6 separate regions of the Homo sapiens genome follow, and regions 1, 2, 3, 5 and 6 are each linked to region 4. Evidence: promoter capture Hi-C in 16 types of primary human blood cells and fetal thymus (Javierre and others, 2016). All regions are on one chromosome and are shown on one strand. Each heading gives the region's core, a stretch centred on a gene start or on the middle of the fragment in contact. The rest is flanking DNA. Distances are from core to core; before and after follow the strand shown. Region 1 holds the start of ZC3HC1 (zinc finger C3HC-type containing 1). Region 2 overlaps ZC3HC1 (zinc finger C3HC-type containing 1). Region 3 overlaps KLHDC10 (kelch domain containing 10). Region 4 holds the start of COPG2 (coat protein complex I subunit gamma 2). Region 5 has its middle 12 kb from the start of LINC03008. Region 6 overlaps KLHDC10 (kelch domain containing 10).

What was found. The method cuts DNA at HindIII sites, captures the fragments that hold promoters and counts their contacts. A CHiCAGO score of 5 or more calls a contact.
Region 1: a fragment that was not itself captured here is called in contact with the fragment with the promoter of COPG2 in region 4 in 5 of 17 cell types (total B cells, fetal thymus, megakaryocytes and 2 more); the score reaches 6.7 in total B cells.
Region 2: a contact is called between a fragment that was not itself captured here and the fragment with the promoter of COPG2 in region 4, in 1 of 17 cell types (monocytes). The highest score is 5.3, in monocytes.
Region 3: a fragment that was not itself captured here is called in contact with the fragment with the promoter of COPG2 in region 4 in 1 of 17 cell types (total B cells); the score reaches 5.1 in total B cells.
Region 5: a contact is called between a fragment that was not itself captured here and the fragment with the promoter of COPG2 in region 4, in 1 of 17 cell types (fetal thymus). The highest score is 5.0, in fetal thymus.
Region 6: a contact is called between a fragment that was not itself captured here and the fragment with the promoter of COPG2 in region 4, in 1 of 17 cell types (erythroblasts). The highest score is 5.2, in erythroblasts.

Annotation. Positions count from the first base shown.
Region 1 is chr7:130,048,537-130,051,977 of GRCh38, forward strand. ZC3HC1 (zinc finger C3HC-type containing 1) reads right to left here and starts at 2,838. Exons shown (of 10, transcript NM_016478.5): 1 at 2,685-2,838; 2 at 497-608. The coding sequence starts at 2,830. RefSeq lists enhancers at 2,172-2,964, 2,592-2,901, 2,962-3,151. The HindIII fragment of the contact is 1,631 bases long and covers 719-2,349 here.
Region 2 is chr7:130,029,966-130,033,360 of GRCh38, forward strand. All of the region lies in intron 4 of ZC3HC1 (zinc finger C3HC-type containing 1), which reads right to left. Among named protein-coding and RNA genes, the nearest start is that of ZC3HC1, 20 kb to the right of the region's middle. The HindIII fragment of the contact is 3,209 bases long and covers 1-3,161 here.
Region 3 is chr7:130,106,767-130,110,568 of GRCh38, forward strand. The region is part of intron 2 of KLHDC10 (kelch domain containing 10); the gene reads left to right. Among named protein-coding and RNA genes, the nearest start is that of LINC03008, 33 kb to the right of the region's middle. The HindIII fragment of the contact is 4,503 bases long and covers 1-3,802 here.
Region 4 is chr7:130,666,900-130,670,595 of GRCh38, forward strand. COPG2 (coat protein complex I subunit gamma 2) reads right to left here and starts at 1,849. Exons shown (of 24, transcript NM_012133.6): 1 at 1,733-1,849; 2 at 583-635; 3 at 1-30. The coding sequence starts at 1,769. TSGA13 (testis specific 13) reads right to left here. Exons shown (of 8, transcript NM_052933.4): 8 at 1,744-2,284. The coding sequence ends at 2,115. RefSeq lists an enhancer at 1,052-1,161 and silencers at 1,432-2,021, 2,112-2,221. The HindIII fragment of the contact is 8,378 bases long and covers 1-3,696 here.
Region 5 is chr7:130,152,380-130,155,788 of GRCh38, forward strand. No RefSeq gene overlaps it. Among named protein-coding and RNA genes, the nearest start is that of LINC03008, 12 kb to the left of the region's middle. RefSeq lists a silencer at 1,833-1,962. The HindIII fragment of the contact is 1,998 bases long and covers 1,002-2,999 here.
Region 6 is chr7:130,126,739-130,130,062 of GRCh38, forward strand. KLHDC10 (kelch domain containing 10) reads left to right here. Exons shown (of 10, transcript NM_014997.4): 8 at 666-713; 9 at 2,699-2,838. Among named protein-coding and RNA genes, the nearest start is that of LINC03008, 13 kb to the right of the region's middle. The HindIII fragment of the contact is 862 bases long and covers 948-1,809 here.

The DNA.
Region 1 (3,441 bases), core at 284-2,783, 620 kb before region 4:
ATGCAGCAATAGGTAGCTAATACACAAAGGAAAATCTAGAAAGAGACATTATAGTAGTGTAGTCTCTAATAATCTAAAAAACATTAGATTATAATCCTGGATCTGCCATTTGCTAACAGGTTCATCTTGGGCAAGTCATATAACCTGCCCCAAACTGTTTCCTCTTCTGTAAAACAAGTATAATAATAATGCTTATTTTCATAGGTTTAAGGTCAAGATCGAATGTGATAATATATACAAAAACATACTATATACAAGTATTAGTTATTATTTCTTCTTTTCTCAGGCTCTTAGTTTTTTCTTCTGTAAAAAGAAAAGGTTAGATAACCTCAACTGTCCCTCTGAGTGATAACATATTAGGATGCTGACTTTCCTATATAATTTCTTACCAAGGTTTTATTCTTAAGTTTAAAGCATCACAGTAAGTGGTGTAATACCTTGGAGGAATTCTAGAAGCAGGCAGAAAGTGCAATTCACATGAACTAAAAAAGGATATAGAAAATGTTTCCACTCTGCTAAAGAAGGCTTCTTTGCTTGTAGATTCCAATGAAGGTTGTTCCGCTTGGGGTGATCCATTAACTGACTGGGATGTGGCAGACGTGTCCTTCCTAATATAAAGTGGCAAAACTGTTGGTAAACCTTTCACAGTACCCTCTGCTTAAATGTTATCTAGCTTCTCTACACATCGTATCATAAATCACACCAACGCTGGATTTTAAGCTTCCTAAAAATCATTTTACTCATGTCATTCCTCAGCTTATTATTTTCAATGGTTTTATAATACTTACTAAATAAAATCCAAATTTTTCAGTCTGGCATTCAAAACTCTTTACAGTTTACCCATATCTAAACTTCAATTTCTACCTCTACAGGGCTCCACTAATCCTAGCAAACTATTCTCCTCACTCACTCACTGTTCTCCACAAGTATTTGGCATAACTTTAGTAGACAGAAAATAAGACTCAAGACTTCAAGTATGCATTATACAATTTGAATCTCTTCAGAAATTCGACTTTTTTTTTTTTTGAGATGGAGTCTCGCTCTGTTGCCCAGGCTGGAGTGCAACGGTGCGATCTCGGCTCACTGCAACCTCCACCTCCCAGGTTCAAGCAATTCTCCTGCCTCGGCCTCCCCAGTAGCTGGGATTACAGGCGCGTACCACCAGGCGTGGGCCCGGCTAATTTTTTGTATCTTTAGGACAGACGGGGTTTCACCATGTTGGTCAGGCTGGTCTGTAACTCCTGACTTTGTGATTGGCCCACCTCAGCCTCCCAAAGTGCTGGGATTACAGGCGTGAGCCACAGCGCCTGGCAGAAATTCGACTCTTAACAGCAGAAAAAACAATTTTGATATTTCTACCTGGAGGGACCTTTCATACCCACTCCTTCCAAAAAAAAAAGAACCAATTAGAAAATTCGAATCAAAGATCTTCGGGAGATTTCATGAAAAAAAAATCAGGGAGAAAAAAACTCAGCAAAGCAATTCTCTCATTTTCAGTGGAAGGCATTTCAACAGTGCCTGGGGAATTGCTGAAAGACAAGCATTTATTTATTTATTTAGAGACGGAGTCTCACTCTGTCACTCAGGCTGGAGTGCAGTGACGCGATCTCGGCTCACTGCAACCTCCGCCTCCCAGGTTCAACCAATTCTCCTGCCTCAGCCTCCCGAGTAGCTGGGACTACAGGCGCGGGCCACCACGCCCGGCTAATTTTTTGTATTTTTAGTAGAGATGGGGTTTCACCGTGTTAGCCAGGATGGTCTTGATCTCCTGACCTCGTGATCTGCCCGCTTCAGCCTCCTCAAAGTGCTGGGATTATAGGCGTGAGCCACCGCGCCCGGCGACAGGCATTATTTTAATAAAAATAGGATTACATCAACGATTATAGCTCAAAAGAAATAAACTTACTCTAAGACTCTCAGAGATTCATAGAGAGCCTCAAGCGGGTGTGGTTCTAGGCCAAAAAAAATTCACAGCATCCATAAACTTGGATGGGTAAAAATGACATTTATTTCTCTCTAAATGACAAGATTTAGCATTTTCTTCAATTATGAATGAAGGTAAAAACACCATAGTAGTATTAGCAGTACCTGCTAATTTGTCACCAATGGAAATAATGTTCCCACATTATGGTGGTTGCATGTCTTCAAATACCTTTGTGCTCATCACTACTTCAAAATTATGGTTGACAACACATACTACTAGATATTATGGACTCTTTAATAAAAAGCATTGTTACTGCGTAACTTTTTCCTTTTACCATCTTGATAACTACATTCCAATCTAACTGGTTTCCTTTATAATCCTATGTAATTTACTTTAAGCATTTAAAAATATTCTGAGAGTTAATAAGCTTCTCCAGAGAGCCAAAGGGGTCCACGGCACAAAAAAAGGTTAAGAATCCCCAATTAAGAGAAGTCAAGTGAACTCATTCAGTTAACGGTCCTCTTTACTTCCAAAAATAATGTCCGATGACAAAATTTCGGCTGCGGTTGGGAATCTGGTACACCCCGAGGGGAAGATCAAAGCCGATCAAACATAGTAACCAGAGTTTCTTTCAGATTCTAAGAAGCCATCCCCACTGCCCGAGTCGCCGACCGAGGGGAACCTCCCCCAACCCGCCACCCCTTCCCCAAGCCTTCTTCAATCTTCCAACGCCGGACCCAGGGTTAACTCGTGAACTCACGCGTCCACGCCTCCCTCTTCCGGGGCAATCCCCTCATCTATCAGCTGCCGGATTTTCTGGGGGGTCCCTTCTGGGGAGCGAACTACTGCACCCCAATTCTTTTCAACCCCTACGGCAAACGCTTGTCCCTCACAGGGCGCCGCCATCTTGGTCCGCTGCCGAGTTGCTTCCCCGAGAGTTTGAAGGCTCCGGAACTTCCGTCCTGGGAGGTTAATATCCGCCTCTTGAGGCAGCCTGGCTGGGAAAGTCTAACCGCGGGGCCCACGCCTTTTCTCATCATTTTAGAACCTTAGAGCGAGCTTAAGGAGGGCTGTACTGTTTAGGACAATCTTGATTAATCGTTTCCTTTATCAACTAGCATATTTAGGTTGATAAGAGATTTTTAGAACGCTGTCAGTCCAAATTCAGCAGGGATGAGGGGCTCAACTTAATTTTCAAGTAATATTAACTAATACGGCCGGGCGCCGTGGCTCATGCCTGTAATCCCAGCGGTTTGGGAGGCCGAGGTGGGCGGATCGCCTGAGGTCAGGAGTTCGAGACCAGCCTGGCCAACATGGTGAAACCCCATCTCTACCAAAAATACAAAAATTAGCTGGACTTGCTGGCGGGCGCCTGTAATCCCAGCTACTAGGGAGGCTGAGGTAGGAGAATCGCTTGAACCCGGGAGGCGGAGGTTGCAGTGAGCCGAGATTGCGCCACTGCACTCCAGCCTGGGCGACAAGAGCAAAACTCCGACTCAAAAAAAATAAAAATAAAA
Region 2 (3,395 bases), core at 307-2,806, 640 kb before region 4:
CTGGTAATACCTAAGTTGGAAAAGAAGGAATCTGCCTGAAATCTAAGCAGTGTGGAAACTGATTATATACTATAGTATAATTATCTCTGGCATTACCCAATTCATCTACTGCATACTTGGTACACTGGTACAAAGGCAAATGATGAGTGCAGAAAGGCCTTGCTAAGCTACTTCCTAAAGAGGTCAGTCTAGTAGGCCTAGAATGAAGTAGAAGCTACACTGAATCAGCCTTTTTTTTTTTTTTTTTTTCCGAGACAGAGTTTTTGCTCTGTCGCCCAGGCTGCAGTGCAATGGTGCGATCACGGCTCACTGCAACCTCTGCCTCCCAGGTTCAAGCAATTCTCCTGCCTCAGCCTCCTGAGTAGCCGGGATTACAGGTGCCTGACACCACACCTGGTTAATTTTTCTATTTTTAATAAAGACAGGGTTTCATCATGTTGGCCAGGCTGATCTTTAACTCTTGGCCTCAGGTGATCCACCCACCTTGGCCTCCCAAAGTGCTGAGATTACAGGCGTAAGTCACCACGCCCAGCCCTGAATCAGCTTTAATAAAGAATGAAAACACGTTTTGGAAGGGATTCATAGGAAAAGTGAAGAGAGAACATGTCATCCTAGCCTGATCGTCTAAAAAGTAGGAAGCCACTCGAGTCACTGGTCTTCTCTCAGCCTCAAATTGACATTTAGTTGCTCAACAAAGTCACTCATAATCTTTTTTTTTTTTTTTGAGACAATCTCGCTGTTGCCCAGGCTGGAGTGCAGTGGCGTGATCTCGGCTCACTGCAGGATCCGCCTCCTGGGGTTCACACCATTCTCCTGCCTCAGCCTCCCGAGTAGCTGGGACTACAGGCGCCCGCCACTGCGCCTGGCTAATTTTTTATATTTTTAGTAGAGACGGGGTTTCACCGTGTTAGCCAGGATGGTCTCGATCTCCTGACCTCATGATCCGCCTGCCTCGGCCTCCCAAAGTGCTGGGATTACAGGCGTGAGCCACTGCGCCCAGCCCATTTTGTGATGTTTTAACTCTTGTTTCCATCTTCCCTTCCCCAGCTCAGCTCTGTGGTAGCCTTGAAAACCGACATCCCAGCGGGGCGTGGTGGCTCACACCTGTAATCCTAGCACTTTGGGAGGCCAAGGTGGGTGGATCACCTGAGGTCGGGAGTTTGAGACCAGCCTGACCAGCATGGAGAAACCCCGTCTCTACTAAAAATACAAAATTAGCCAGGCATGGTGGCGCATGCCTGTAATCCCAGCTACTCGGGAGGCTGAGGCAGAATCGCTTGAACCCGGGAGGCGGAGGTTTGGTGAGCTGAGATTGCGCCATTGCACTCCAGCCTGGGCAACAGAGCAAAACTCCATCTCAAAAAAAAAAAAAAAAAACAGAAAACCAACATCCCCACAATCATGGTGAAAACCAGTAGCTTAGCAGTCACCGGAGAGCACAGAAAAGAGGTGGAGCTCCTCCAAAGCCCCATTCCAGAGAACCACCATTATTTGATCTGTGTGGCAGTTGCCTAGAACATTATACTGTCGCAGTGAGAACACCCTTTTCCCCAGACAGGTTTTCAAAAATGATCATTGGCAACTGTTTAACATCACAGTTGCTTTGAGGCAGCAGTATGAGTTGGAGCAAGTAACAAGCTGACCAAAAACCTTAAAAGCTGGGAAATGAAATGTCCATAGGCAGGCTTGAAAGGCTCTGACATATTCCCTGGAATCTAGAAGGACATGTGCAGGTATAGAGCTATACACATGCCCAGCAAAGACCTGAAAAGGCCCTAAGCTCTCTCATCTCTGGCTGATGCTGAGGTTCTGCACAAGCAGGAAGTGAAGGCTAACACAGAACTGCAAACTGCCTGCTTGACTACTGAAGGTGTGCTCCCCCCACCACACACAGAGCTCCTTGGCAAGACTGGGGGACTTATTTGTTCAGGCATTTAAAGAAATCTCTGTCCAATCGTCCTGTGAAAGTTGATTTTGAGGCCGGGCACAGTGGCTCACGCCTGTAATCCCAACACTTTGGGAGGCCGAGGTGGGCGGATCACGAGGTCAGCAGTTCAAGACCAGCCTGGCCAACATGGTGAAACACTGTCTCTACTAAAAATACAAAAATTAGCCAGGCATGGTGGTGGGTGCCTGTAATCCTAGCTACTCGGGAGGCTGAGGCAGGAGAATTGCTTGAACCTGGGAGGTGGAGGTTGCAGTGAGCCGAGACCACGCCATTGCACTCCAGCCTGGGCAACAGAACAAGATTCCCTCTAAAAAAAAAAAAAAAGTAAGTTGATTTTGATAATTTTTGTAAGTGTTCTTTTTGCTCTCATAGAAGATTTTCAGATGCCCTTCCTCCACCATCCCCACTGAAGACATCCTACACAGATTGAGACAAGAAACATGAATTTGAGGCCAGGTACAGTTGCTCATGACTGTAATCCTAACATTTTGGGAGGCTGAGGTAGGAGGATCACTTGAAGCCAGGAGTTTGAGATCAGCCTGGGCAATATAGTGAGACCCCATCTCTACCAAAAAAAAAAAAATTAGCTGGATGTGGTGGCATACGCCTGTAGTCATAGTTACTCAGGAGGCTGAGGCAGGAGGATTGCTTAAGCCCAGGAATTCAAAGCTGCAGTGAGCTATGATTGTGCCACTGCACTGTAGCCTGGGAGAGAGAGAGAGAGGAGAGAGAAACGTGTACTTGATAGAAGAAATGGAAGGAAGGAAGGAAGGAAGGAAGGAAGGAAGGAAGGAAGGAAGGAAGGGAAGGAGGGAGGGAGGGAGGGACAGTAAGAGGGGAAGGGGGGAAGGGAAGGAGGGAAGGGAGGGAGGGGAGGGAAGGAAAGGAAGGGAAGGAAAAGAAAGAAGGGAAGGAAGGGAAAGATGGGAAGGAGGGGAAGGAGGGAGGGAGGAAGGGAGGGATGGACTACCTGATAGAAGAAATAATACTTACAAATATATCAGTGCTCTCCTGCTTACTAAAATTAATTTTTAAAATTAATTATTATTAGCCAGGTGGCACTTGTAAACCCAGCTACTCTGGATACTGAGGCAGAAGTATCACTTGAGCCCAAGAGTTCAAGGTCAGTCCGGGCAATAGAGAGAGACACCATCTTTTTCCTTTGCTGCAGTGCAGTGGTGCAATCATGGCTCGCCACAGCCTTAACCTCCCAAGCTTACGCGATCTTGCCACCTCAGCTTCCCGAGTAGCTGGGAACACAGGTATGCGTAACCATGCCCAGCTAATTTTTTGTATTTTTTGTAGAGATGGGGTTTTACTATATTGTCCAGGCTGGTCTTGAATTCCTGGACTCAAGCAATCTGCCCACTTCAGCCTCCGAAAGTGCTGGGACTACCCTGGCTGCATTTTAGTTTAATTGTAATGATTATTCTCTTATTTGAGTTTC
Region 3 (3,802 bases), core at 633-3,132, 560 kb before region 4:
CAAGAGTTGGAGACCAGCCTGGGCAACACTCTGTCTCTAAGAAAAAATTCAAAAATTAGCCGGGCGTGGTGGCACACACCTGTGGTCCCAGCTACTTGGGAGGCTGAGATGAGAGGATTGCTTGAACCTGGGAGGTCAAGGCTGCAGTGAGCAGTGATTACACTGCTACGTTCCAGCCTGGGCAATAGAGCAAGACCCTGTCTCAAAAATAAATAAACAAATAAACCCCACATCCATTCCTGGTAAGGGAAAACATTCTTACGCATCCAGGGATAAAAGAAGATTTATTTTATGACAGAATACTATAAGAAACCAGTAGTAAATATCATATATGATGTATCATTTATTGATAAGAAACCAATAGCAAACATAATACATAACGGCATAACCTTACCAGTGTCCTCATTAAAGTAAAAAAAACGAGACAAAGATGTCCACTGTCATCTCCACTATTCAACCTTGTTCTGGAGTTTTCAGCCAATACAGTAGAAGACCAGGAAAAAGAAAAAAGAAGTACACATATTGGAAAAGAAGAGTTAAAGTTGGCATTAATAACAGATGATCTGATTGTCTACCTATAAAATTCAAGATAATTCATGATAACTAATACTAGAGTTCAGAAAATTGGCTGGACAAAATTTAAACTTGCAAAAAACCACCTTCCTATATATTAACAGCAACCAATTACAAAATAAAAGAGGTATCTAGTTACAATTGTATGGAAATTTATAAAGTACTTAGAAATAAAAAAACAATAAAACAATGAAACTTGATGAAATACAAAACTAGCTGGGCGACCAGGTGCCATGGTTCACGCCTGTAATCCCAGCGCTTTGGGAGGCCGAGGTGGGCGGTTCACGTGGGGTCAAGAATTCAAGACCAGCCTGGCCAACATGACGAAACCCAGTCTTTACTAAAAATACAAAAATTAGCCGGGCGTCGTGGTGCACGCCTGTAATCCCAGCTACTCGGGAGGCTGAGGCGGGAGAATTGCTCGAACCCAGGAGGCAGAGGTTGCAGTGAGCCAAGATCGCGTCACTGCACTCTAGCCTGGGCGACAGAGTGGGACTCCGTCTCAAAAAAAAAAAAAAAAAAAAAAAAGAGCCGGACGCGGTGGCCCGTACCGTAGTCCCAGCTACTCTGGAGGCTGAGGGTGGAGAATGGCTGGAACCCGGGAGGCGGAGGTTGCAGTGAGGTGAGACCGCGCCACTGCACCCCAGCCTGGGGGACAGAGCAAGACTCCGTCTCCAAACAAAACAAAACAAAAAACCCTTCCCCGGGAAAAAAAAAACAAAAAACAAAACAAAAAAAAACTAGCTGGTTGAGGTCGTGTGCGCCTGGAGTCCCAGCTACTCCAGACGCTGAGGTGGGAGAATCGCCTGAACCCGGAGGCGGAAGTTGCAGTGAGCCGAAATCGCGCCACTGTACACCAGCCTGGGCGACAGAGCGAGACTTGTCTCAAAAAAAAAGAAAAAAGAAACTATACTCATGGACATCAAAAAAGACAAGAATAAATGGCTAGGGATTATGTTCCTTAATGGGTTATCCCAGATAAAATCCTCAAGGGACTTTTTAAAAATAGAATTTTAATTGCCATAGAACTTCCGGTTTAATTGCAAAAATTGCAAAAATGGTAGAAATTCTCCTGTATCCTGGCCGGGCACGGTGGCTCACGCCTGTAATCCCAGCACTGTGGGAGGCCGAGGCAGGTGGATCGCTTAAACTCAGGAGTTAGCCGCCTCAAGACCAGCCTGGGCAACGAGACGAAACGCCGTCTCTACCAAATATCCAAAAAAAAAAAAAAAAAGCTGGGCGTGGTGGTGCGCGCCTGTGGTCCCAGCACTCATCAGGATGCTGAGGTGGAAGGATCGCTTGAGCTCGGGAGGTGGAGGTTGCAATGAGCCAAGATTGAGTCATTGCACTCCAGCCTGGGCGACAGAGCGAGACCCCATCTCAAACAAAAAAAAAAAAAAAGAAAGAAAAGGGAAAAAAATGTCTCCTGTATCCTTTACCCAGATTCCCCAAATGTTATTTTGTCTTTTACTTTATCCTGCTCCCTCTCCTCTCTCCCTTCCCCCCTTTATACACAATACGCACATACATATTTTTCTGTTTCAACCATTTGAAAATTGCAGACATGATGTCTTGCTCTCTCTCTCTTTTTTTGAGACAGGCTGTCACCCTGTCGCCCAGGCTGGAGTGCAACAGCGCCATCTCAGCTCACTGCAGCCTCCGCCTCCGGGGTCTAAGTGATTCTTCCGCCTCAGCCTCCTGAGTAGCTGGGACTGCAGGTGTGCGCCACCACACCCTGTATTTTTTTAGTAGGGTCAGGGTTTCACCGTGTTGACCAGGCTGGTCTCGAACTCCTAATCTCAAGTGATCCACCCGCCTTGGCCTCCCACAGTGCTGGGATTACAGATGTGAGCCACTGAGCCCAGCAGGTCTCTTTTTTTTTTTTTTAATTTTTTAAAATTTAATTTTTTTTAGAGATGAAGTTTTGTTCTGTCACCCAGGCTGAAGTGCAGGGGTGCAATCATAGCTTACTGCACTCAAGCGATCCTCCAGCCCACCTCAGCCACCCACGTAGCTGGGACTACAGGAATGTGCCACCATGCCTGGCTAATTTTTTTTGGCAGGGTCGGTACAGATAGGGTTTCACTATTTTGCCATATCTCTTTATGTCTGTGTACCAAAGTGTTTGCTCCTGAAAAACAGACATTCTCTTCCATAACTGCAGAACCTGTATCAAAATTAGGCATCAACACTGATTATTAACCCTATAAATAATGGGTACAATTAATACTACTATATAAGTTACAGACCTTGTTTCAGATTTTGCCATTATTATTTTGCCACTATCCTAATAATGTTCTTTTTGTTTGTTTGTTTTGAGACGGAGTCTCACTCTGTTGCCCAGGCTGGAGTGCAGTGGTGCAATCTCAGCTCATTGCAACTTCCACCTCTCAGTTTCAAGCGATTCTCATGCCTCAGCCTCCCGAGTAGCTGGGATCACAGGTGCCCACCACCACGCGTGGCTAATTTTTGTATTTTTAGTAGAGATAGGGTTTCACCATGTTAGTCAGGCTGGTCTCAAACTCCTGACCTCAGGCAATCTGCCCGCCTCAGCCTCCCATAGTGCTGGGATTACAGGCATGACCCACCGTGCTGGGCCAATAATGTTCTTTAATAGCAGTAGAAAATCTGAGATTGTGTGTTACATTCTGTTGTCATGTATCTTTAGCCTCCTTCAGTGTTGAACAGTTTCTCAGCGTTTGTCTTTTTGACATTGATATTTTTGAACAGTTGCAGGCTAGGTATATTGTAAAACGTCCCTTTGTTTGGGTTTCTCCCCATTTTCTCATAGTTACATTCAGCTTATATATTTTTGGCAGGACTACCACTGAAATAATATTGTGATCATCTCATTGCACATGATGTTGATTGATTTGTCCCATTACTGGTGATGTTAATTTTGATCACCTGGATAAGATGCTGTCTGTCCATGGGACTTTTTATAGACTTAACAAACTCATTCTAAAATTCATTGCAAAAGTAAATGGAGAAAAATAACTAGAAGTTTTTGGGAAAAAGTAATACAAAAGGGAATTTGTTCTAAATATTGAAAGATAGTTCAAAGCTATAATAATTAAAACAATGTGGTAATGAGGGCCAGGCATGGTGACTAACACCTGTAATCCCAGCACTTTGGGAGGCCCTGTGGTAGGAGATGCTTATATAACCAACAAGTAATATTGTGGGCTGGTGTGAATGGATTGCTTTGGTCTGAGCAACTTGGGCTCTG
Region 4 (3,696 bases), core at 599-3,098:
ATTGATTGGAGTTTCATTGAATATACGAGCCTATGAAAAAACATAAAAAACATTGCTACTTTTCTACCTTTTCTATCACAGATTATAGCAAATCAACTTTAATACAGACTATTTTTAATCACGGTATCCAAAGAACATTGTCTATAGTTCTCAATTTACTAAGGTATCTGATAAATTATTACACGTGGCCTTGATTTTCCATCCTATACTTTCTCATTCCCTTAGGTTGACTACTTCAACTTTATGGGCTATACCAGTTAAATAAGGATCACAATACTTATCTATATCATACTAATACAATGAGATTAATACAGATAACTGATTTCAATAACCTTGCACTAAACACCTGTTCTTACATTTAAAATTCCCAACCTGTGACAGTCTTCATGTCTTTGCATTTCTATAAGCTCCAAATTCTCCTGTGACAAGTAACCCCTCTTTCTTTTCCCTCAAATCTATATTCCCTAAACTCTGTTACGTTTCTTGTTTTGCATGTCGTGATCACAGCAGCCCAGGGATTCTCTGCCCACCACTCTAAAACAGAATAGAAAAGAAAGGGCACAAGATACTTCCCAGTCATACCTCCTGTAAAACAGCACTCTTCTCCAGATGCTGGAAAGGATTGGAGCCACTACCTATTTATAAAACAAAACAAAAAAATGTCCTGAACAGCTGTTCTACACAAACTTATATACTTTCCAGAGAAGGGTACTGAATGCTTGGGAAGTGAACACTTGGATGGCACAGTGATAATCATGGCTAATACGCATACGAACTGAATGAAATCATTTTGATCCCGGCTCTGTCACTGCCATACTCGAAGAGCTGAGACTTCTCTTTCGCAGCAACCCTCTCCAAAATGAGTGTCTTCTTTCCCTGCCCTCTTTTTCCATGAATGTTAAAAATGTGTCATTTCCACAACAACGAAGATTAATGAGATTGTAGTAGGGTGCTTTTGATTTCCTTAGGTAAGCAGTATTTTATGTGTTTCTAACACTTAAGGAGAGGCAGAAACGAAGTTTCCCAGAGAATCATGCAGGCGTAAAGGTGCAAGAGGCCATGGAGGTTGACTAACCCAACCCCCTCTCACACTGTGGGAGATGCTACCAAACACTGAGAATTTTTTTCTTTTTGAGGATGCTTGGCATCTTCCCCATTTGCTCTGGACCAAAGACGGGCATCAAGACGCAGGTCACTTCTGGACACCTGAGCATTCAACGAGCTGTGTCCCACGGGACAGTCTTGCCCCCGGGGACCTGGACAGAGCCGGTGACCCCAGGAAAACGATAAGGTACCAGGCACCTGAACGTTCCTCCACACACACCCTGTGCCGTCGACCCCAGCCCCGGGAACAGGGTGCTCCCACTAGGGGTCCGACCCTACCAGCACCCCTGGACGCGGAGACGCGCGCACGCCCTCGGCCCCCGCCGGAGGCCCGCGCGCAGGGGAGGAGGCGGCTCGGAGGGGCTGCGCCGCAAGAGGGGCGGGAACGGGGCGCGCGCGGGCGCCGGGGCGGGAGCGCGCGGCCCGAAGGGAGGCTCCGGCGCCCGGGGGAGGGGCTACGGGCAGGCCCCGGGCAGCCGCGAGGGGAGGGGAGGGGCCGGCTCCAGCTCCGGCCCCCTGGCACGGCGGCGCCCACGCCCCCAGCCCCGCCGGCCTGAAAGCAGGTGGCGGCGGGCGGGGGAAGGGGCGTCCCGCGGCTGAGGGTGGGCCTCGGAAGCCCCGCGCGTACCAGACTCCTCGTCCTTCTTGTCGAATTTTTTAATCATCTTGGACGACTTCCCAGCGCCCAGACCCACCGCAACCGTCCCAGGCGCCGCAGCCGGCGAGCGGAAGAGGCTGCAGGAAGGCCGGCCCCGCGCTCTCACGCCGGTTGGGCCGCCGCGCCTTCACTCGGGGCCAAGGCCCGCCCTCCCCGGCCGCCCTCGGCCCCCGGGACGCAGCCACGCCCCCTTCTCCTCTTGCGGCCCGCCGGAGACTTCGGCTCGACCCTCCCGGCTTGCGACCCGGGAGCCCACGCCCGCAGCAGCAGGAATGTGGTTTTATTTGGGTGGCGACTTCTGCGGACCCCTCAGTCTCAAGAGAGCGAGGCGGGAGGACTGAGGGGTCTGTGTTCACCCGATGACCGTGGCCTTTTTGATAATCCACTGCGGGGCCCTCCCGTTGCGGAAGGCGCTCTCCCCGGGCGCGGTTCTGGTGGGCATGTCTTCCAAGAGCGATGCGAGTGTCAGTGGTTCCCGAATCACTTTGGAAATTGGCCTTTCACTCGCTGACTTCTTGGAAGCTACGACAAAGCACAGGCACCCTGGTGAATGTGGCTTTTCAGAAGTACTCGAAGGATACTTAATGTGAGATGTAAAGGAGACGCACTTGGAGGGACCAGAGGCTGGTCTTTAGAGGGTAGATTTTGGACCGTGTAATACCATTCCCAACCTATTTTATAATTTTTGGATTCCTTCATTTCATCAAAACCCAGTGGAAAATTCATTGCCAGTTTAGAGTCTTCCTTGTTCAAGCCTATTTCTTTCAATGATTCCATCTGAAACCATATTGACACTTAAGAAACTCACTAAATTAACGTGCATTCATTCCTAACTCATGTTCCTCTTTTTCTCAGAGTGTATGCTGGCTTTCTGTTCTCTTGTCTAAGAGTGTAGCTAAGAAACTTTGTCTGCCTTTGGCTTCACTGGCATAACTTGTTTAGAAATGTAAATTGGGTCTATACTCAACAGGATCGTGCCCCTGCAAAATTAGAGAAATTCTAACCTAGATTACATTCTACATCCTAGAGAAATTCTTTCCCTGAAATACAGATTTAAGATGAACTGTTGATATCCTACATATGGTATCATTTAAGATTTAACTCCGACTTGACTAAATGTACTATTAACTACTATGTTTGCTTTATATGGCTTGTAAAGGTCAAGTCATACTTTGTAGGTGGAGTTTTCTTTGAAGGAAATAGAAGTCTGCACTCATTTATTCTGGGGGTGAAAATAAACAGGCTTTGGGGAAGGAAACATCCTCTTCCTCTTCCTTGGCCCAAGGGTATTGGGAACCTAGGCAGAGACAGTGTAGATAATAGGCCCAGAGGTTCTCAAGGTGGGTAATGCCCCGGAGACCTGCTGAGAAGTAGAAGGACCTGAGTTCAGATTTGGGGCTGACCCTAAGACTAGCCCCTTGTAAAGCAAGATCAATCATTCTCTGCTGTTCTTCAGCTTTTCTGTATATCTATGAAGTTTTGTTTAATACCACAGGTTGTTTTTAGCTGTGCAGTATTTACGGAGTTAAGAGCATCAGTAGGTGGAAATGGGATGGGATGTGGTGGCAGATAGGTATAGCAGGAGCAGAGAAGCCTGAAGAAGCCAGTTAAGGGATGGTATAATATGACCCCAGGCCTTCGGTATCAGGACTATTTGGACTGAGGATGGCTGGCAGACGGGTTGAGCAATCACTGCAATGGCTTTGTGGGACAGGCAAGGATACCTTAGGGAGTCTCAGGAATTGTTTGAGGAGAGAAACCCAGTAGGAGAAATGGACCTTATCTTAAAACCATGAGCTGGTGAAGTCTGAGGACCCACCAATTATATATATCTAATACACAAATGTGTACTCAGTGCCCTGAAATTCTTCATTGGGTCCAAACTGCCTACTGGATAAAACCCAAACCTTTATTTAAATAATATTTAAGGCATT
Region 5 (3,409 bases), core at 751-3,250, 510 kb before region 4:
CCCACATCACAGAAACACACACCAGAAACAACATACCACATCACACACACCACAAGCCGCACACACATCACACACACACACACACTGCAAGCCACACAAACATACCACAAAACACACACCACACAAATACACATCACACACCGCAAGCCACACACACTGCAGACCACACACACACACACAAGCCACAGATACATACCACAAACCACACACACCACACATCACACAAACACCACCCAACACTCACCCATACAACCTGCTAACCCCCACACACCATATACCACGCATACACATTGGAGCTACACATACCACATACACCACAAACCAGAAACACACACACACCATATACACAGCCCCATACATGTATTGCACACACCATATGCACCACACAAATACACCCTCACACCCCTCTACACACCCCACACCTACACAAACCACATACACCACAAACCACATACACCCCACACAAACATACGCACCATGCACCACACACCACACCCTCACACTGCAACCACATTCCCCAGATACACCAGAGGCCCATGGCCCCCTGCCCTGCGTGGGAGTCTGTGACGGGGACTTAGGAACTGTGACTCCAGGCAGGGCACGTTTGCCACGCACGCAGGCAGGCAGCACGGGCAGGAGCAGACAGTGGCTCACTCAGCCCGTTTTCGCCTTTGGAGACAAACTGCGTCCCTGCCTCCTGAGGGCTGTGCTGTGCGGAGGAGCAGAGGCCCCTGGTTACGGCCCCCTGACTCAGAGCCGGGGATTTTTGATCTCTTTTTGCAGACGGAGAACACGGATGCAGGGAAGAAAAGAGTTCAGCCAGGGGTGGCAGCCACTGGGCCCCGAGCAGACTCTGCCTGCGGTCCCCACTGGGAGTGGCTCCGGCGGGGAAGGGGCTGGCGCGCTGGCAGCCAGGGTCTTCCTGGGGGGCACTCGGGCAGAGGCCAGGGCCGGGCCAGACCACACGGACTCTTCCCTCCCCACCCCAGCCAGGGCAGAGAAGCTTCTGGCAGGAGAACAGCAAACCTAAGTGACCACCACAGGGGTGTGAACCTCCCCGGCCTCTGGGGCCATGGGGGCAGCCGCGGAGAGGCTGGGCCTGGCGCTGGTACCCGGGGAACCGCCTGGCTCCAAAGAGCAGCTCAGAAAAGTCAGTGGAGCCAGTTCCTGAACAGCCACGGGGACCGGTAGGAGGAAGGAGGAAGGAGAGGCCGTTTTTGACCTTCCTCCCTCTCCCTGCCTGGTCCAGGCGCACAACGGCAGCGGCCCCTGTGGAGGGCAGGGTTTAGGCATAGGGCCCCTTACAGGCCTGCGGGTCTCCCTCAGCTCCAGGGAGGCGCCGGCCTCGGCCTGCCGTCTTCTCACGGGTCCCAGGCCCTCTCTCTGCCCACGGCCACCCTGCCTCCCTCCACCTGAGCCCTGTCAGGCCCTCTCTCCAGAGCTCAGGGAGATGCTGTGGGGGAGGAAGGAGAGTGGCAGTCAGTTCTGCAAAGCATCTTCTAGAAAGGGGCCACAGAGTCCACCGATCAAGGGCTGTGGGCACCCAGGCACTATGGGCTGAGGGTCCCTGGCCGCTTGGCAAACACCTCACAGCTCTCGAGCCCACGGGAGCAGGTGAGAAACAGTTGCGTTTCTTTTGCCCACAACTCCCCATGTTACAGGAAACTAGTGATCATCGGCCTCCGTGTCCTCAGTGAGGCAGGGACAGCTGTGTTGGTGTGGCCCTGGAGCCTTTGGGGAGACCGTAGCAGGGCCACACTGCTTCAAGGTGAGACAGAAAAAGGTGCCTTCTCACACCTGGGCTTCCAGGTTCTAATGCATACACATGAGAGCTACACATACCACATACACCACAAACCCAGGGTGTGGGTTTGGCCTGGGCTGTGTGCTCCACCTGGGGGCTGTCCCAGGCCGGGGCAGTGCTGCCAGGGTGTGAAGGGGACACGGTGCCCAACTGCTTCTGCTTTGCTCACAGCTCTCAGCACCTCAGGAGCCAGAACCCCTCAGGGTGTGGTGGGGACAGCAGGGGGGTGGCGGGCAGGGGTGTGGTGGGTGGTGGGGAGGGCCAGGCCTGGTCAGAAGCCAGGAGGCGAGCCAGGCCCGAGGCTGACACAAGCCGGCTCTGGGCTCCAGCCAGGAGCAGGTGGCCATGAGAAGCCAGGCTCCCTGCCCCTCCTCGGGAGGCCCCGCAGGAGCCCTGGCACCTTTCCAAGTGCCAGCTGCGCAGCCTGGCCCAGAGTCCGGGCCCAGGAGGGCCCGCAGTGCCTGCAGCTGCCTGGGGACCACATGCGTGACTGGCTGGCCCCCTGCTCATCCCGCCTCTCTCCTCCGCCTGGCTTCGCGCCGCCTGCCTGCCCTCGGGGACAAGCGTGCCCATCTGACACCTCAGCGCCTGCCCATTCCCCGGGACCAGGCCATCTGGCCTCGCTGCTGCCTCTGCTCTGTGCAACCCCCATGCCGCAGCCCGTCGCCTCCTGCTCCAGCCTCCGCCAGGACTGTCCTGTGCGCCCATCAGGGTGTCCTTGGTACCTGGCTGGCAGGCTGTGCCCAGCCAGGAAGTCCTCCTGTAAGCTCTGCATGCATCTCGGTGCCAAGGGGCACAGCCCTCAGCACGGAGGTGGCCGTGGAGGGGATTATCAGAGTGCAGGGGCCCAGCTCTCCCTTGTCAGGCCACTGTCAGGCCTTCCTGTGACCCTCCCAATGGCGTGACCTCTTGTCTCCGCTTTGACCAGAGGCTGGAAGAGTCTGACCCAAGCAGGCAACAGGAGGTGCAGGGAGGGTTAGAGGAGCCAGCCTGGGGGGGAAAGCCAGGAGGAAACAAGCCCCCCAGCAGCGCCGCCAGGGGGCGTCCTCTTGCAGCAGTGTCCTGAGGCCACGCTTCTAGAAAGGCCTCGAACCCCAGCACCAGCAGGGCCTGGGCACTGACAGGCCCACTCTGGGCTTCTGGGCCGTCTGTAAAACAAGACAGTCCAACTGTTTGATCTCCAAGGCCCCTTCTAAGCTTTTCTGAGCTGTGACAAGGACAAAATCTCACCAAAAAACCTGAAGCAGCTGGAAAAGCCAACGCTACTGGCATGGGGTGCTTCATATTGTAAACCACACCTATGTGTGTGATGTGGGGTGGGCCACAGAGGTGTCTTCACAGGCCTGCACCCAGCCTGCATGGGCCCTTAGGAGGGCTCTGTGCTGGGTGTAATGCCCTGCTGTGGCTGTCTTGAAATTCTTGAACAGAGGGCCCCACGTTTTCATTTTGCTCTGGTTCTCTCGCAAATTATGTAGTTGGCGCTGGCTAAAAATACTTGGAATGTTGTTCCAGAAGCACTGTGGACATGTCTACATTGTTTTTGCTCTGCAGGATTTATTGAACATTTCATTTCCAGTGCCTGGGGAAGGGACAGAAGATGAATCA
Region 6 (3,324 bases), core at 129-2,628, 540 kb before region 4:
GATTGAGCAAAGAGACTTTTAATCCTCTTTGTTGAATTCTTTGGCAGAAGTTGGGAAATATGGGTGATATAAGAAATTGGAGCCTAAATAAAGATCTACCGGCTGGGTATGGTGGCTCATGCCTATAATCCCAGCACTTTGGGAGGCTGAGCCCAGGAGTTCGAGACCAGCCTGTGCAACATGGTGAAACCCTGTCTCCACTAAAAATACAAAAAATTAGCTGGGTGTGGTGGTGTGCACCTGTAGTCCCAGTTACTGAGGAGGCTGAAGTGGGAGGATCATTTGAGCCCAGGAGGCGGAGGCTGCAGTGAGCCAAGATTGCACTGCTGCATTCCAGCCTGGGCAACACAGTGAGACCCTGTCTCTAAATTAAATAAATAATAAAGATCTACCTATCTCCTTGTGGGTAAAAGGGCTTGGGAAAGCCACTAGCAACTCCTGTCCTTTCCCTCTTTGTTTCCGGCACCTTAGCATTGTACTGTTATGATGAGACTCCTGATGGCTTTTGAAATAAGGAGGGAGTGGAAGGACTAGTCAATGTTTGCTTAACATGTAACAAAGGGATTGTTTTGAGTTACACGTAGTGTGTCTTTCACTGTGTTATATCAGTGTGGTTCCCAGTCTTTCTGTAAGTAATGGAACTTCTGTGTTTGTGTGTTTGGCAGGCTTTCCTGCAGCCCGAAGGTGTCACAGTTGTGTTCAAATAAAAAATGGTAAGGATTCTAAATAACATTTTGCTTCCATTTCTGTAATTGTATCTTCTGAAAATGTCTTATTTCCTAAGATAGCCCCCTCAAAAGAGGCTCATAACTTTGAGAAAAGTCTATTTCTTGTAAACTTAAAGGGAAATTCATAGTTATGCCTCTGTCAGCTGTTTTCATAATGTAAACTAGTATGGTGTTTGGGTTCCTTCAGTTATTAGAGAACTCAAAAAATGGTGATAAATAAGCTTTTATTGTAGCACTTGATCTTTCAGCATCCCACACCTCAACAGATGTCTGTGGTTATGGTGGCTAATACTAATAATCTTGACTGTTTATACTGTAGAGACCTCAGCGAACATTGTATTAAAATTGTAATAACTCCTTCAGAGTGTTATTTCATAAAGTTGATTCTGTTCTCTCTCTGATGCCAAATGGAACTCTTCACTCATTCTTTGGCCATATTACAACAAAGGCATTGTATGGCTTCAGAAAGCAGCTGCAGCTACTTTAACTAAATGTGATAAGTGACTCCTCTCTGGATAACCTTCCTGTCTTTTAATTTACAACTTATTTCATCGTCTGATATAGCTCTTAAATTTTTTCTGGGAGGAAAGCATGTATAAATGAGTTAGATAGCCTGTATGCTTTTAGCAACTTAGTTCAGATACAACTAGGATTATTCTGCCATCTCTAGTTCAGAGGGATTTTTTATTGTGCTCCTGCTTTCTGGATAAGATTTATAGATAATGACATTGCTCACATTTCTCTCTGTGAGAATGGAACTGTACTTTCAGTTTTCCTTGAATCCTAGCCAAAAAAGTTTCCAGTGCATTTTATAGCTTAAGTATTGGCTTAAACTTGGTCTAGACCTGAGTTAAGAAATTTATTCATTTAATTCTTTGAGGCCAAGCACCATACAAATAGAATTCAACCTTAGTTCTAGGCATTTCGTTTGAAGGTTCACATAGCCTTTGTTACAAGTTATCTAATTAGTTATAACTAACTGATTTTACCAGAAAACCCACACCTTTCATTTTGGGAAAATTATTCCTAATAACTGTACAGATCAAACAGAGCTTCAGTTTGTCCTCTTCTCGCCGAAGAAAGCTTGGAAGAGCCTCTTTTGTGTTCCTAAACTGAACATTGCAGTGAAGTGAACGTTCCTCCTCAGGTTAAATGTCTACATAGAGACTTTAGTCTCTGCGAGCAGATAAATGTATATTCTTTCCAGGACATTATTTAAAGAAGAGTTTGCAAACTGGTGGCCTGCAAATGTGTTTTGTTTGGCTCATATGTGTATTAAAATTTTTTTTGAGGCCAGGCATGGTGGCTCATGCCTGTAATCCTAGCACTTTGGGAGGCTGAGGCGGGAGGGTCACTTGAGCCCAGGAGTTCAAGACCAGCCTGGGTAATATAGTGAGACCTTGTCTCTTAAAAAAAAAAAAAAATATATATATATATATATATATATATATATACATACTAGCCAAAACTTAAAAATCAAAATGTTTCATTTTTAAAAACATAACCAGATTTCCAACTTGCCTTGAAAAAAATGGACGATCTGGCAATTGCCAGCCTTAAGTCTGTTATAGGACCGAACAGCTGGGGCTGCATAGCTGTCGCCTCTTTTAGAGCATGAGCATTTCTGTCTGTTTTCCTGAGACTTCTGTTTGTTTATCTTCCCTAGACCCCCTTGCTCATTTACTTTCTGTGCCTGGAATCTGTAGGTATGTGTTTGAATTTGGTAACTTTGACATGAAGGCTCCTTAGAGGCTTGCATTCTTAGTCCCAGGGAAGACCCTGACATAGCATCTCAGTTCTGTTGAGGGACAAGACAACAGCATGAGAGGCTGCACAGCAGAAGTCGTCTGTGTCATGGGGCAATCCACTTCACTGGCCGCATGTCAGCTGGCTGTGTGACCTACTCTAAAACACTCCATAGCTTTGGCTCTTTTCCTTTGTGTGATCTTGGCTTTCTCTTTTCTTCATAGATGTATTTATTTGTGGGGGCTATAATGGAGAGGTGATCCTGGGAGATATCTGGAAGTTGAATCTGCAGACTTTCCAATGGGTGAAGCTCCCAGCTACCATGCCAGAGCCAGTTTATTTTCACTGTGCAGCTGTTACACCAGTAAGTTTTTATTTTCATATCTTCCTTATGTAGTTACAGATGATAAGGAAATCTTTTTAGAGATATTAGCAAGAAAAAAAGCCAGATATAGGCAAACCTTAGATGATTAATAACATATTTTTAAAACTTCCTTCCAAAGCTAGGCCCTCCTCTAAGAAAAGAGGAGAAAAATCATCACACCCAAATTTGAGAGAATAACATAAATGTAAGAGAAATGCTACCTGTGGCATTCCGGCCCTGACCGTGATGTCAAAGGTGTTTCCTGGGAGGGCGGAATAGTTTTACCCCCTTGATACCATATTATTGAAGATCCTGCTCATTTCTTGAAGGCAAAGGCCTTTATTTTCATCTTTGTATTCCCAGTATTTGGCATCTTGGATACTTAATATAGGTTTAGTTTAATGTTAGTTAATAGTGAAATTGTTTGTTGTTGAAGTAAAAAAAAATTCATATATATAGGCCGGGCGCGGTGGCTCAGGCCTGTAA